Linked DNA regions of Homo sapiens: all the other regions are linked to region 4. The links are contacts of gene promoters, found by promoter capture Hi-C in blood cells and fetal thymus (Javierre and others, 2016). All regions are on one chromosome and are shown on one strand. Each heading gives the region's core, a stretch centred on a gene start or on the middle of the fragment in contact. The rest is flanking DNA. Distances are from core to core; before and after follow the strand shown.

Region 1 (2,700 bases), core at 94-2,593, 5.6 Mb before region 4:
CACTCTAATTCCAGAGTCTATACTCTTAACCACAAATCTATGCTGTCCTTCCACTACAATCAGACTAAATATTAATTATCTGTTACTCATCATCAATAAATATTATAAAGGACAGAGGTTATCAGTCTACTGCTGTTTCTGAATTTATCTGAGGTTTGGGGAGATTTTATGTTTCCAAGATAACATTCATTTTGTTGTGATCTCATGATACATTAGCATCTAGTTTTCTTAAAATCTGTTATACTTCTACTTTTCTTATTTGTATTCTTATTTACATTTTTTTATTTTACTCTTACATTAAAATGTTGTTAAAATAATTTGTTTAAAATAAAACCCAAAATATTTTAAAATGTGGAAAAATGTTTAAAATTTACCAATATTCAAACAAATACAAATTAAACGAATCACACAAAAGTTTCACCTAATTGTTTATTTAAAAAATAATTTTTATTAACACTTGAAAGGGTATCATTTTATACATACTCATACAGCTGCTAGCAGCTATATTAATTAGTAGTACTATGTAGACATCAACTTGAAAATATTTCAAATCCTTAAAGTAGTCATACCTACCATTGATGATTCCCTTCTAGGATCCTATAATATTGTGATCTTAAGCATAAAGGATGCTTAAGTTTTGTTTCTTACTGTCCAGTCTTGGAATGAAAGGGGTGATGGGCACTAATTTTCATGAGCTACATACAAATTTTTCTCTGCAAATGTTTTTATCTCTTTCAGAAAAGACAGAGCCTTAAGCATACCAATGTCTGGAGTCTGGGTTGCAAGTAAACTTTAGCTTTAAAATGTAGCAAAAATCAAGAGTCATTTTGGTTGGCACACCCAAGGAAGAAGTATGTTTTGCTTCATTTAATTTGTATGTGGGAGAAAAATGTGTTGAGTCAAAAGTAGTTACACTCACGGACCCTTTCTTCTCTGAGTACCAGGAAGAAAAAAAAAAGAAAATGTACACACACATGCTAGTGCATATGCACATGCACACACATGACAACCCATACTTCAAAGTAAAGGCAGGCTAGGATAAAATAATTCTTTGAGAATCTGGTCTGCCAGAGTGGTTTGTTCTTGGGGTGAGGGTGAGAAGGCTGGGATAATATAAAAGTTTCCATCACATAATGAGACAGCTGCAGTTAGTATTACATTTACTCATTCTAGATAACAACCTGAGATTTATCCATTCACGACAATAATCTGAGGTTTATGAATGTTCCATCCAAGATAACAACCTGAGGTCCAACCTTACTCTTCCTTTTCTCCCAGGGCAGAAAAAATTAGGAACCATGCACGCTGTCAAGCCATTCTCCAGAAAGAAACGCTATTATCAGCACTGAGTTAAAAGGAAGTCACATCCACATCAAAGGGAACTACATCCAGATGCCTGCCCGTTCTGTTACCTAGAATCAGTGTTAGGAAGATGAGGCAAACGGTTAAACTGGTTCCATTTCCATTTTGCTCCTTCTGTCTTTGCACCCCAAAATGGTCCCCTTTTCCTTTTTTAAAACATATTTTTAAAGACACTTAATTCAGTTGAAGCATGCAAACGAGAACGGCAGAACCAAAATGCACTATATATCATTGAGCCAACACTCTCAAGTGTATTTCCAGCACAATGCTTTAAGCAAATAAAAAAAAATTGTGCTGAAACATTGTTCTTAATAACTGACTACTAAAAAACAAGGTAAATGTATGATAATAAGAGAGAGGCTTGAATACATTTTGATATCTCCACTCACAAGGAATGTTACGCCGTGACTTAAAACTGAAGTTAATATGAATATAAAGAAATGCTTTTGATAGGACAAGAAAACAAATATCAAATTATATATGACTAAAAGTATTTAGGGAAAGATTACCTCGTGCACAGGAAAGAAATGTACTACATCAATATTACGTGGATGACTTGAGTGGGATGACTATGTATCTTTGGGGTCATCTTTTGATTTTAGTTTTTTGTATGTTTTAAATCTTCTGTAATAATCATGAAAAATAATTTAAAAATCAAATCGGGGAAATAAAGCATAATAAAAGTTAACACTTTTATTACACTAAGGTTACACTAAAAGTTAACAGGAATGAACATTTTGTGGTGAACGGTAACACACGTTACCCCTAGAGATCTGTAAGGGGAACTGAATGCCTTTCTTCTTTGAACTGTGGAGAAGTTTAAATTTTTACCCCAGCACTCCTCAATATTTGGCATAGAGAAATATCTGAAAGAAGTCCCGCAAAGCTCTCAGGTCACTGTGGTACAAGGAGTCAGATTAGTATAGCTTGAATTCTGGGGACCCCATTGCTTATGCCATGGTTTTCACCTACAATCATCAATCAACAAACACACTGAAGAAATTGGCATAAAGAGTCCCATCTCCTTTTTCGAATCTCTGGTCTTAATTTCTAGTTAAAGACAGCATAATCCTAAACATACAAAATGTAAATTTGTTAATTCCAGATCACCCTTACACAGAACTCCAGCCATATATAGTACGATTGAACTTTTCTTGTATTCTCAGGCGAAATTTAGATTTAGCTACTTCATCAGATTAAAAAAGAAAAGGCAGCAAGCAGACATTAAAAAAGTTTAAAATCAGGTGAATAAGCACATGAAATTCATACAGCTGGTATAAATAGTACACTCAATCCTACCAAGTATGTAAATCGAGGAGCCAATATCTCAGCATTTCC
Region 2 (2,700 bases), core at 140-2,639, 6.8 Mb before region 4:
TTCAACTATTATAAAAAGGAGTGGTATATATATATATAAACTCTTGCTTGGCTTTGGTTTGATTGAATTAATAAGGTGAGTTTTTTTTGTTTGTTTGTTTTGAGATGGAGTCTCGCTCTGTTGCCCAGGCTGGAGTGCAGTGGTGGGATCTCGGCTCACTGCAGGCCATTCTCCTGCCTCAGCCTCCCGAGTAGCTGGGACTGCAGGTGCCTGCCACCACACCTGGCTAATTTTTTGTATTTTTAGTAGAGATGGGGTTTCACCGTGTTAGCCAGGATGGTCTAGATCTCCTGACCTTGTGATCCGCCCGCCTCGGAAATACTTTGCATTGTTGGATTGATTGGGTTTGAGCCCCTGTTGTACTTAAGTGATTATGAACAAGTCTTTTATAATCTGAATTTCCCTTTCCTAGTTTGTAATATTGAGGATAATAATTTCTAACTTGCATGATTGTTGTGAAGATTAAATAAGACAATGATATTGGTAGGAGCTCTTTATAATCTTTCTCTCTTATGTACAATTCAAATATATGTCGGTTTAAATACCAAAATACCACTTTAAAAAATCTGGGCTGAAATGGACACTTCTAATGTAGGAGTAGTGCTTTAGAAAATAATGCTTTGTTTCGTATTCTTTTCCTAGTATTTTATGTCTAGTAACTCATAAGGAAAAAATGATCAGATAAGTATATTTTTTAGATGCTGATTACAGCATTATTTAAATAGTAGAAATAACAACTGTTCAGTGATAAGACAATGAATAAATTCTGTTCATAAACATTACAAATGTTTTTTAAATATTTTTCATATGTGTGAAAAGTAGGATTAAAAATAACTTTGACAAATGCATACAATTTATATGTGTCCCCAAAAGCTGGAGGGCAGTGTACCAAAATAGAGTAGTTTTCTCCAGGTTGATGGGATTAGTTTTTTGTAATTCTTTATATATTTTCTCTATATTCCACATTTTAAGTATTTTATGATAAAGTTATTAATATTGATAAAGTTATTAATGTTGCTTAATTGATTAAACCCTGATATTTTCTTGTTTCTTTAAAAAACGTTGCATAACTTGATATAAATCTTTTTAATTGTACAAAAAAACACATAAAATTTACTATCTTAACCATTTTTAAGTGTACACTTAAATTGTTTAATTATTCTTATACGTACTTAATAATATTACATTGCAAAACCCATCTCCAGAACTTTTTGGAGAACTGAAACTCTATACTGATTTTAAAACTCCCTCTTTTGTCCTTCTGCTGGTAACCAGCATTCTATTTTCTGTGTCTATGAATTTGACTACTTTAAATACCTCACATAAGTGGAATTATACAGTATAGGTTAAGCATCCCTAATCTGAAAATCCAAAGTCTGAATGCTACAAAATCTGAAACTGGTGTGTGTTTTTTTTTTTTTTTTTTTTTTTTTTGAGACGGAGTCTTACTCTGTCGCCCAGGCTGGAGTGCAGTGGCGCGATCTCTGCTCACTGCAAGCTCCACCACCCGGGTTCACGCCATCTTCCTGAGTAGCTGGGACTACAGGCGCCCGCCACCACGCCCGGCTAATTTTTTGTATATATATATATATTTTTTAGTAGAGACGGGGTTTCACTGTAGCCAGGATGGACTCTTATCTCCCGACCTCGTGATCCGCCTGCCTCGGCCTCCCAAAGTGCTGGGATTACAGGCCTGAGCCACCGCGCCTGGCCAATCTGAAACTTTTTGAGCACTTACTTGATGCTCAAAGGAAGTGCTTAGTGGAGCATTTTGGATTTTAGATTTTCAGATTAGGAATGCTCAGGTTGTGTTTGTCCTTTTGTGACTGGCTTATATTCACTTAATATAATGTCCTCAGGGTCCATCCATTTTGTAGCATGTGACAAGATTTCCTCCCTTTTTAAGGCTACATAGCATTCCATTGTGGTACACAAAAGTTCATTTGAAGCCCCCTGTGTCATAACTCAGACTTCCATAACAAAATACCATAGACTGAGTGACTTAAAAAACAGAGATTCGTTTTCTCACAGTTCTGGAAACTGGGAAGTCCAAGATCAAGGTACCAGCAAGGCAACTTTCCTTCTGAGGCCACTTCTCTTGAAGTGAGGCCACCATTTTACTTTGTGTGCCTCACATGACCTTTTCTTTGTGAGCACACTTTGGGGGAGTGGGTGGCAGAAGCTCTCTGGTATTTCTTCTCATAAAGGCATTAATCCCATCATGAAGGCCTTACTCTCATGATCTCATGAAATCCTCCAGTTAACTCCTAAAGGCCCTGTTTCAAAATTGCATCACATTTGGGGTTAGGACTTCAGCATGTGATTTTTGGGGAAACATAAGCATTGAGTTGATAATACCCTGCATATAGTTGACCCATACTTCTCCACTCCAGGTAATTACTATACTAAATTTGATGTTTACCATTCCCATAAATTTCTCATTTACTACATGTTTATGTATTTTTATCTTAAGCAATATATGGTTTTGTTTTGCATGTTTAAACTATAGATGTACTATCATGCTGTATGTATTCTGTAATTTGCTTTTCTTGTTCAGTGTTATTTTTGTTAAGTTTATATATATATATATTTTCATTGCCATATAGTATATGATATATGAATATATCATCTTGACAAATGAGTTAATATTTGACGAGATTGATTTGTCAAATATTTTAAATTTTTTTCCATTACAAACTG
Region 3 (2,700 bases), core at 103-2,602, 8.5 Mb before region 4:
TTGTCTTCCATCAAATCTTCTTTCTTTTCTTTTCTTTTCTTTTTTTTTTTTTTTGAGACAGAGTCTCACTCTGTCGCTTGGCTGGAGTGCAGTGGCACAATCTTGGCTCACTGCAACCCCCACCTCCCAGGTTCAAGCGATTCTCCTGCCTCAGCCTCCCAAGTAGCTGGGACTACAGGCATGCACCACCATGCCTGGCTATTTTTTTTTTTTTTTTTTTTAGTAGAGACAGAGTTTCACCATGTTGGCCAGGCTGGTCTCGAACTCCTAACCTCAGGTGATCTGCCCGCCTCTACCTCCCAAAGTGCTGGGATTACAGGCATGAGCCACTGCGCCCGGCTCCATCAAATCTTCTTAACTATACATTCTCGCAGTAAGACCTTAAAGTGGATATTAGTTCCCTTTTTACAGACAAAGAAGTAGATTCCATAAAAGTTAAATAATTTGCCTAAGTCTACTTAGCTAGTAAGGGTGGAGAAAGTTCATAGTTGTGGACTTAGAAGTCAGTGTCTCTCAAATTTTAATGGAATCAGAATTCTCTGGGCTTACAAATGCGTAGTTGGAAGTCCAGAGGTAGGGTCTTTGGTGTAGTAAGAAAAACAGCTCAAGGATAATACAAGGAGTATCATTTACTTGTATATGCCCACTCTGCCATTCCTAATAATGTCTTCAACCTGAAACAGTCTTACCTGATACTTAAGACACTAGTGGTCCCAGAATGGGATGTGTGGATGGTTACATCCAACAGGGCAATCTCCATAGCCAAAAAAGAGGTTATCTTGTCGGGTCTTTTTTGCCCCTCCCCCCCAGTCTTGCTCTGTGGCACGGTCTCGGCTCACTGCAACCTCCACCTCTGGGATTCAAGCAATTCGCCTGGCTTAGCCTCCCAAGTAACTGGGACTACAGGTATGCGCCACCACACCCAGCTAATTTTTGTATTTTTAGTAGAGACGGGGTTTCACCATGTTGGTCAGGTTGGTCTTGAACCTGACCTCATGATCCGCCCACCTCAGCCTCCCAAAGTGCTGGGATTATACGGGTGAGCCATGACGCCCGGCCTGCTTTATTTTTTATTTTTTTAAAGGCAAGGAAACTTATTCTAGAACCCCTCACAGCAGACTTTCTTTCACTCCTTTTGGCCATACTTATATCACTTTCCCAGGCATAAAAGGAAAGCGACTTCAAAGCTGGTGGAGGTGGGAGGAGGATGATCTACAACTCACCTGTAATACATGGCTGTTGGATGGAGGGTGGGTACTGAACAAAATAGGCATTCTCTCAGTGAGGAGGAAGCTGCAGGGAGGGTTGTTGGGTAGGCAAACAATAGCATCTAGATTGCTGTGATGATGATGTGTCTGAAACAGCTTTGTAAACTGACACATGCAATGAAAATGTCAGGCATATGATAATTACTTAGCTCCAGGCCCCAAGCTCTATATTAAGGTAGATTTAATACTTGGAGGACACCCTTGCATTTCCCATTACTTCATCCCCTCACTATTATAATTACCTATATCTGTAGGAAATATTAGTTTGACCACACTTGGCATGTAGCTGGAATGAATGGAAGCAATCAAACATTGGGGGCTTGCAAGGAAATGCAGAGAATCAAAGAGGGTGGGGTACCAGACATTGTTTGGACTTATTGGTTGAATTATTCTGAATTAAGGTGATCATAAAACTCTTTAGTTTTCCTGCCAAGAAAGTTGAGAACTGCAGGGAGCAGCTAGGTAGCAGGCAGGGACAGGAACATAGCTGAGAATTCCTGCCAAAAATGTCACCTGGGTAAGCCAAGTCCTGGGCTGTGACAGACACAGAATGTATAGATAATCAAGAAGTCAAGAAGCTGTAGTGGGCCAGGCATGGTGGCTCATGCCTGTAATCTCAGCAATCTAGGAGGCCAAGGCAGGAGGATCACTTGAACCTCAGAGTTTGAGACCAGCCAAGGCAACAGAGTGAGACCCTATCTCTGTAAAAAATTAACCAGGCATGATGGTGGTGTGTACCTGTAGTCCCAGCTACTCAGGAGGCTGGGGTGGGAGGTTTGCTTAAACCCAAGAGATCAAGGCTGCAGTGAGCCATATTTGCACTACTGCACTCCAGCCTGGGTGACAGAGACCCTGTCTCAAAAAAAAAAAAAAAAAAAAAAAAAAAAAAAAGGCCAGGTGCGGTGGCTCATGCCTGTAATCTCAGCACTTTGGGAGGCTGAGGAGGGTGGATCAGCTGAGATCGGGAGTTTCAGACCAGCCTGACCAACATGGAGAAACCCCGTCTCTACTAAAAATACAAAATTAGCAGGGCATGGTGTCACATGCCTGTAATCCCAGCTACTCAGGAGGCTGAGGCAGGAGAATTGCTTGAACCCGGGAGGGGGAGGTTGCAGTGAGCTGAGATCGTGCCATTGCACTCCAGCCTGGGCAACAAGATCGAAACTCTGTCTCAAAAAAAAAAAAAAAAAGCTATAGTGGATTAATCAGGAAAGTTAAGACTGAGTGAGAAGAAGCAACAATTAAAATTTCTCTTGGGAAGATGAGTTGCGCTGACAGTACATTTAACAGATTCATGGAAGTAAATTATAGTGCTGCAAAAAGCATGAAAACTATGTTAATAGTTGACAAAATGAATAACGATATGTGGTCTATAACCAGTCATAAGTAAAGCATGTCTGGGAGGTGATTTTTTTTTTTTTTTTTCTGAGAC
Region 4 (2,700 bases), core at 53-2,552:
TTCTCTACATGTCCACTTTCACCAAACTATTATGGTAGTGTTTTTCTCCAGACTTCTACAGTAGTCCAACTGGTCTTTCTGCTTCTGTTTTTTGCATTGCAACCGGAGAAATTTTCATACCTAAACTTTGATTCTCTCCCCTCAACACACACCTACTTAAAGAATTTGTCAGTTTCTAAATGTTCCTCAAATAAAAAGGGCTCCTAACAAATCTACAGCGTCTACGTGGTCTGGCTCTACCTATCTGATATTTTGGTGGGTGTGTGGGGAAGGTTCTTCTCATGTTTGTCTTCTAGTTTTCATTAATATCTGTCTCTCTCCTTTTCCCCAACCAATGCGGGATGACAGCAGATTGCTGGTATACTGCTTACTGCTGTATCTCTAACATTTATTTAAGTGGCAAAAAGAACTGTAAGAGGAACTCTGGTTCTCCAGACTGTAGCAGCTACATCTAGCATAAAACCTCTCTTTAGAATCCTCAAGGCCCTCTCTGTATGGGGTGAGGGGTACATTCCTGACCCTCCGGGGATGATCCCTGCCTCACTCCATTCAGAATCTAGGCAGAACAGTGGATTAGAATGTAGACCCCCAGTCAGAACACCAAGGGTCAAAACTTAGTTCTTCCACTTTCTAGCTGTGTGATTTAACCTCTTTGTACATCAGTGTCCTCAGCTGTAAAATAGGGAGAAAAGTACCTACACCTACACACACACACACATACACACACACACACACACACACCCCTACACACACACACATACACACACATGCAATAATTTATTTATTAGGTTACCTCTCCCTAGAGGCTGCCATTTCTGCGAAATGAACCCTGGCAGGGGCCTATCCGTCTGCTAAATGCCTACTGATTCAAGAAAAAAGTCTGAACTCTCAACGTTTTGCCCCTTAAACTGAGTTCTCCTCCCTACAATGGTGTCTAATGAGTTGACAGAATAACTGGCTAGCTTTATATTTTACCATCTAAATACTGTAAGAACATACCCGGTATTTCCACACCCAAGTTCTCCTCCTTGCTATTCAGGCCAATTCACTTTCCCAAGGCCAGGGATTAAGAGCCGCACGGTCAGCTCCAGATAGCGCTCGCCGCCGTGCGCCCCGCCCCGCCGTGCGCCCCGCCCCGCCGTGCGCCCCGCCCCGCCGTGCGCCCCGCCCCGCCGTGCGCCCCGCCCCGCCGTGCGCCCCGCCCCGCCGTGCGCCCCGCCCCGCCGTGCGCCCCGCCCCGCCGTGCGCCCCGCCCCGCCGTGCGCCCCGCCCCGCCCTGTGACGGTCCCAGCCCGCACATGCGCAGTCGTGAGTCCTCTTGTCCTTGAGCGTCAACCTTCTTTCCCTGAAGTGGCTGGGGTTCCTGTTTCCTTCTTTGATTGACAACTTGTGTTAACCCTCGCACATCTCTGGGCCAATTTTTGCTTGTAAGTCTTTCCGGAGACCCCTGGAATTTAAATCATTAGCACCGCGCCCTTCCCCGAAGAGTCTTCGAAGGGTTGCCGCTTTTCGGTGGCGCAGTTCTCGCGAGAAGGTGACTTTCTTTCTCGGTATTTCCTGGTTTCCAGAATCCTTAGCGCGAGGCGGAAAAAATATTTCTCCCAGCTTGTGTTGATGCCGCGATTTTGACTGAGACTTCTTCCCACGATTTCTGTTTTTGCTTCTCCAAGGAAAATGGCAGCTCCCGAGCAGCCGCTTGCGATATCAAGGGGATGCACGAGCTCCTCCTCGCTTTCCCCGCCTCGGGGCGACCGAACCCTTCTGGTCAGGCACCTGCCGGCTGAGCTTACTGCTGAGGAGAAAGAGGACTTGCTGAAGTACTTCGGGGCTCAGTCTGTGCGGGTCCTGTCAGATAAGGGGCGACTGGTAAGGGCGCGCCCCTCCGGAGTCTCCCGGGAAGGCATTTGGGAAGTGACCGGGGAGGGGGAGCGCTGACAAGAGTAAAATGGAAACGAGTGGGGAAGATGGACTTGTGTGATGAGAGCTCCCCCATCCTACCTCTTTTTTATCAAAATATCTGCTCTGCGAAGTGGAGTTTTAATCGGCTCGAGTCTGGATTAGTCATAGCACTGCAGAAAAGGGCAAGTGAGAACGACAAAGCAGAAGAATGGAAATTAGCTTAGTTATATTGAGTTTTCGGATCCATCCTGAGAGCCTCACAACTTTTTTGAATTTGGGGTTATTTCTCCTGGACTCAAGAGTATTCTTACAAATGTGCATCAAGGGATTTTTTAAAGTCCTACTTCATTTATAAGCCAATGTTAAATCGTTCATTAAAATAGAGGAGAAGCTACATTGGTGACTTGCGTAAATTAAATGCAGAATTTCAACTAGAAAAAGAGGCTTTTCATAAAAATTTCCCGATGACATCTTTTAGGGAACAATTTTTTAGGGCTGTTAAGAGTACCTGTGTAGGAATTTACACAATTACTTTGTTTTGCTTTATATCCAAAGATATTTTAGATTTCTCTTCATTAAAATAGGAATAGCGATGGTGCAAGACTCAGTGGTTTTAAAGTTTCCCTAGGTGATTTTAATGTTAATGTGCAGCCCAAGTTGAGAGTTACTGAATTAGAAGAAAGACCAATTTTGATCAGTTTAAATGTCACTTATGCCTGCAAATTAAAAAAAAAAAATTATATATGGCTCAATTTAAGTACATCAGGTCATCGTGTATCAGATTAGACAAAATTAGAATGT
Region 5 (2,700 bases), core at 56-2,555, 6.8 Mb before region 4:
GCTTTTTTCAGTAAACATGGAGATAAGCAGTCACTATTGCTGAATACAAAAGAGGCAATGTTTGTGCTAAAACGGTCCTTTGCTCACTGCCATCTAATTCCTTCTCTTTTTTAATGTAAAATTTATTTTTATCAAAGTAACACATGCCCATAGCTTAAAAAGTAAATAGTTTTGGAAGATTTACATGACATTTTTAAACCAAAAGTATCTGAGACAGGTTTCAATCAATTTAGAAGTTTATTTTGCCAAGGATAAGGACATGTCTATGACAGCCTCAGGAGGTTCTGAGAACATGTGCCCAATGTGGTCAGGCTACAGCTTGTTTTTATATGTTTTAGGGAGACATAAGATATCAATTAATACATGTTCTATCTGAAAAGGCAGGATAATTCAAAGCAGGGGCTTCCAGGTCATAGGTGGATTCAAAGATTTGGTGATTGGCAATTAGTTGAAAGAGTTTATCTAAAGACCTGGAATCAATAGAAGGGAGGGTCTGGTTTAAGATAAGGGCTTGTGGAAACCAAAGTTTTTATTATGCAGATGAAGCTTCCAGGTAGCAGGTTTTAGAGAGAATAGATTGTGTTAAGATCTCTGTTTTGATGTTAATGCTGGTCAGCTCCTGAAGACAGGATTCTGAAGACAGGAGGGTATAGTGAGGCCACCCATTCCCATCAGGGCCTGAACACGTGTTTTGGGTTAACTTTGGAATGCCATTGGCCAAGAGGAGGAGTCCATTCAGTTGGAGGGGAGGGGCTTCAAATTTTATTTTTGGCTTACAACAAAAACAAAATTCAAAAGTATACTCTTCTTTTTATTTCTCATCCTGTGGTGCGATGCCCCAGAAGCATAAGAGATAGAAGAGTATACTTTTCAATTCTCCCTAATCATCGTGATATTTACCTCCATACTTCTGAAAAATATGTTTGTGTGCCATTTTCTCACCTATTAATTCTAGACATATTCTGCTGACTTCCTACTTTTGAAGATGAGAGTTTATAACCCTACCACATACACATATGTGCACATCCGTATTTCTCTTCCTTCTCTGACAAAATTGTTTCACAATCTTAATTTTATTAGTATTCAGTGCTTATATTATTGTGAAGATGTAATTACTTTCACAAACCGAGCCACAGAGTGTGCTATAATTATATTTCTTTACAACTTTTTCCTTACCCTGTAGTTAATTTAAAACATATTTCATGTGTTTTTGATTAATGCTTTCCCTAAGCTTACCAATAGCACCACAAACCTGTACTAAACATATACAGACATATTATATTTTATCTATAAAAGTTCCATATTTTTCTCAGATACGTCTTTCCTTGAGCCTTCTGGTCTCATATTCCATTGTAACCATAGGACTGCTGCATAGCTGTTGAAGCTTCTTTCACCAACATACAATTTTCTTCTCTTCTATAGTGGATCTCTGGTTTCCTGGGTACAACATCTTCTTTCCTGGTGCATTAGCCTCATTGGGAAATACATCTTCCAGAAAATTCCAAATAAAAAAAATCCATAGAAAACAAATTTTTGACATTTGGTGTATCTAGATTTATGTTTATTCCATTTTCATATGTTACTGATAGTTTGGAAAGGAATACTTTTTCTCAGTACTGCACTCAGAAGCTTTGTGCTAGTCTGCCTACAAGGGGTGTTGACAAGTGAAAAAAGTATCTTAGTACAGTTTCACCTTGAATTGCTTTAAAATGAGGCTGAGCATATTTGTTTTTACTTTCCTGTAATATGTCATAATCTATTCATATGCTTTACCAATTTTTCTATTTGACTGTTGGCTTTTGATTTTGTATTTGTAGGAACTCCTTATGTATTAAAGAAATCAGTACGCTTCCCTTTTTAAATGGTAGGAATTGCTAATATTTTACACCAAGGCTCACGCTCATGTAGGCAACTTGACAGTCTCTTTTAAAATAAAAAATATACTCTACTCTATCTAGTAATTTTTATTTATAGTATTTATCCAGAAGACATATTCACACTTGCAGGGAACATCTCAGAAACAAGGATATTCATTGCAGAATTGTGTGTAAATAGCAAGAATGGAGGCAATCTAAATGTTCCTCAATATGATCTAGATAAATAAATCATGATTTACTTATTCAGTGGAATATTATGCAGGTGTATATAAAGAATGAGGCAGCTCTAAACATACTGATAAGGAAAGATCTCTAAGATGTAAATTTTTAAAGTCGAAAAAATGTTTCAGAATAGTGTGCATAATAGTTACCACTTTTGAATCAAAAGAAAAACTATATATATATAATCAATATATGTCTTTGAACATCTCTGAAAAAATATGTAATTAACTGGTAAGATGGTTTGCCTCTGGAACATGGAACTCAGTAGCTGGAGAGCAGGAGTAAAAAGTATATGCTTTTTATCTTTATGACACCCCCTCCAAGTAGACATAGTATAAAGTTTACAAGTACAGTACTGAGAAAAAGCATTGCTTTCCAAACTATCAATAACATGTGAAAATAGAATAAACATATCTCTGAATACACAATATATTAAAAAAAAGTGTTTCCTATGGATTTTTTTCTCTGGAACCTTCTGGAAGGTGTATTTCCTGATGAGGGAATATATCAGGAAAGAAGATATGGGATCTAGGAAACCAGAGATCCAATATAGGAGAGAATTACATATTGGTGAAAGAAGCCCCAAGCCAATAGCTATACA

What was found. The method cuts DNA at HindIII sites, captures the fragments that hold promoters and counts their contacts. A CHiCAGO score of 5 or more calls a contact.
Region 1: a contact is called between a fragment that was not itself captured here and the fragment with the promoter of RNPC3 in region 4, in 1 of 17 cell types (non-activated CD4 T cells). The highest score is 8.2, in non-activated CD4 T cells.
Region 2: a contact is called between a fragment that was not itself captured here and the fragment with the promoter of RNPC3 in region 4, in 1 of 17 cell types (total CD4 T cells). The highest score is 7.1, in total CD4 T cells.
Region 3: a contact is called between a fragment that was not itself captured here and the fragment with the promoter of RNPC3 in region 4, in 3 of 17 cell types (activated CD4 T cells, total CD4 T cells and naive CD4 T cells). The highest score is 17.0, in activated CD4 T cells.
Region 5: a contact is called between a fragment that was not itself captured here and the fragment with the promoter of RNPC3 in region 4, in 3 of 17 cell types (activated CD4 T cells, total CD4 T cells and total B cells). The highest score is 7.0, in activated CD4 T cells.

What each region holds. Positions count from the first base shown.
Region 1 is chr1:97,910,639-97,913,338 of GRCh38, forward strand. The region is part of intron 1 of DPYD (dihydropyrimidine dehydrogenase); the gene reads right to left. Among named protein-coding and RNA genes, the nearest start is that of DPYD, 9.0 kb to the right of the region's middle. The HindIII fragment of the contact is 6,602 bases long and covers 1-2,700 here.
Region 2 is chr1:96,738,211-96,740,910 of GRCh38, forward strand. All of the region lies in intron 2 of PTBP2 (polypyrimidine tract binding protein 2), which reads left to right. Among named protein-coding and RNA genes, the nearest start is that of PTBP2, 18 kb to the left of the region's middle. The HindIII fragment of the contact is 4,459 bases long and covers 1-2,700 here.
Region 3 is chr1:95,074,308-95,077,007 of GRCh38, forward strand. No RefSeq gene overlaps it. Among named protein-coding and RNA genes, the nearest start is that of ALG14, 2.7 kb to the left of the region's middle. The HindIII fragment of the contact is 4,740 bases long and covers 1-2,700 here.
Region 4 is chr1:103,524,397-103,527,096 of GRCh38, forward strand. RNPC3 (RNA binding region (RNP1, RRM) containing 3) reads left to right here and starts at 1,303. Exons shown (of 15, transcript NM_017619.4): 1 at 1,303-1,866. The coding sequence starts at 1,675. RNPC3-DT (RNPC3 divergent transcript) reads right to left here and starts at 1,112. Exons shown (of 4, transcript NR_168321.1): 1 at 1,000-1,112. RefSeq lists a silencer at 1,095-1,194 and an enhancer at 1,515-1,754. The HindIII fragment of the contact is 7,657 bases long and covers 1-2,700 here.
Region 5 is chr1:96,715,106-96,717,805 of GRCh38, forward strand. No RefSeq gene overlaps it. Among named protein-coding and RNA genes, the nearest start is that of PTBP2, 5.3 kb to the right of the region's middle. RefSeq lists enhancers at 1-627, 628-1,555. The HindIII fragment of the contact is 153 bases long and covers 1,230-1,382 here.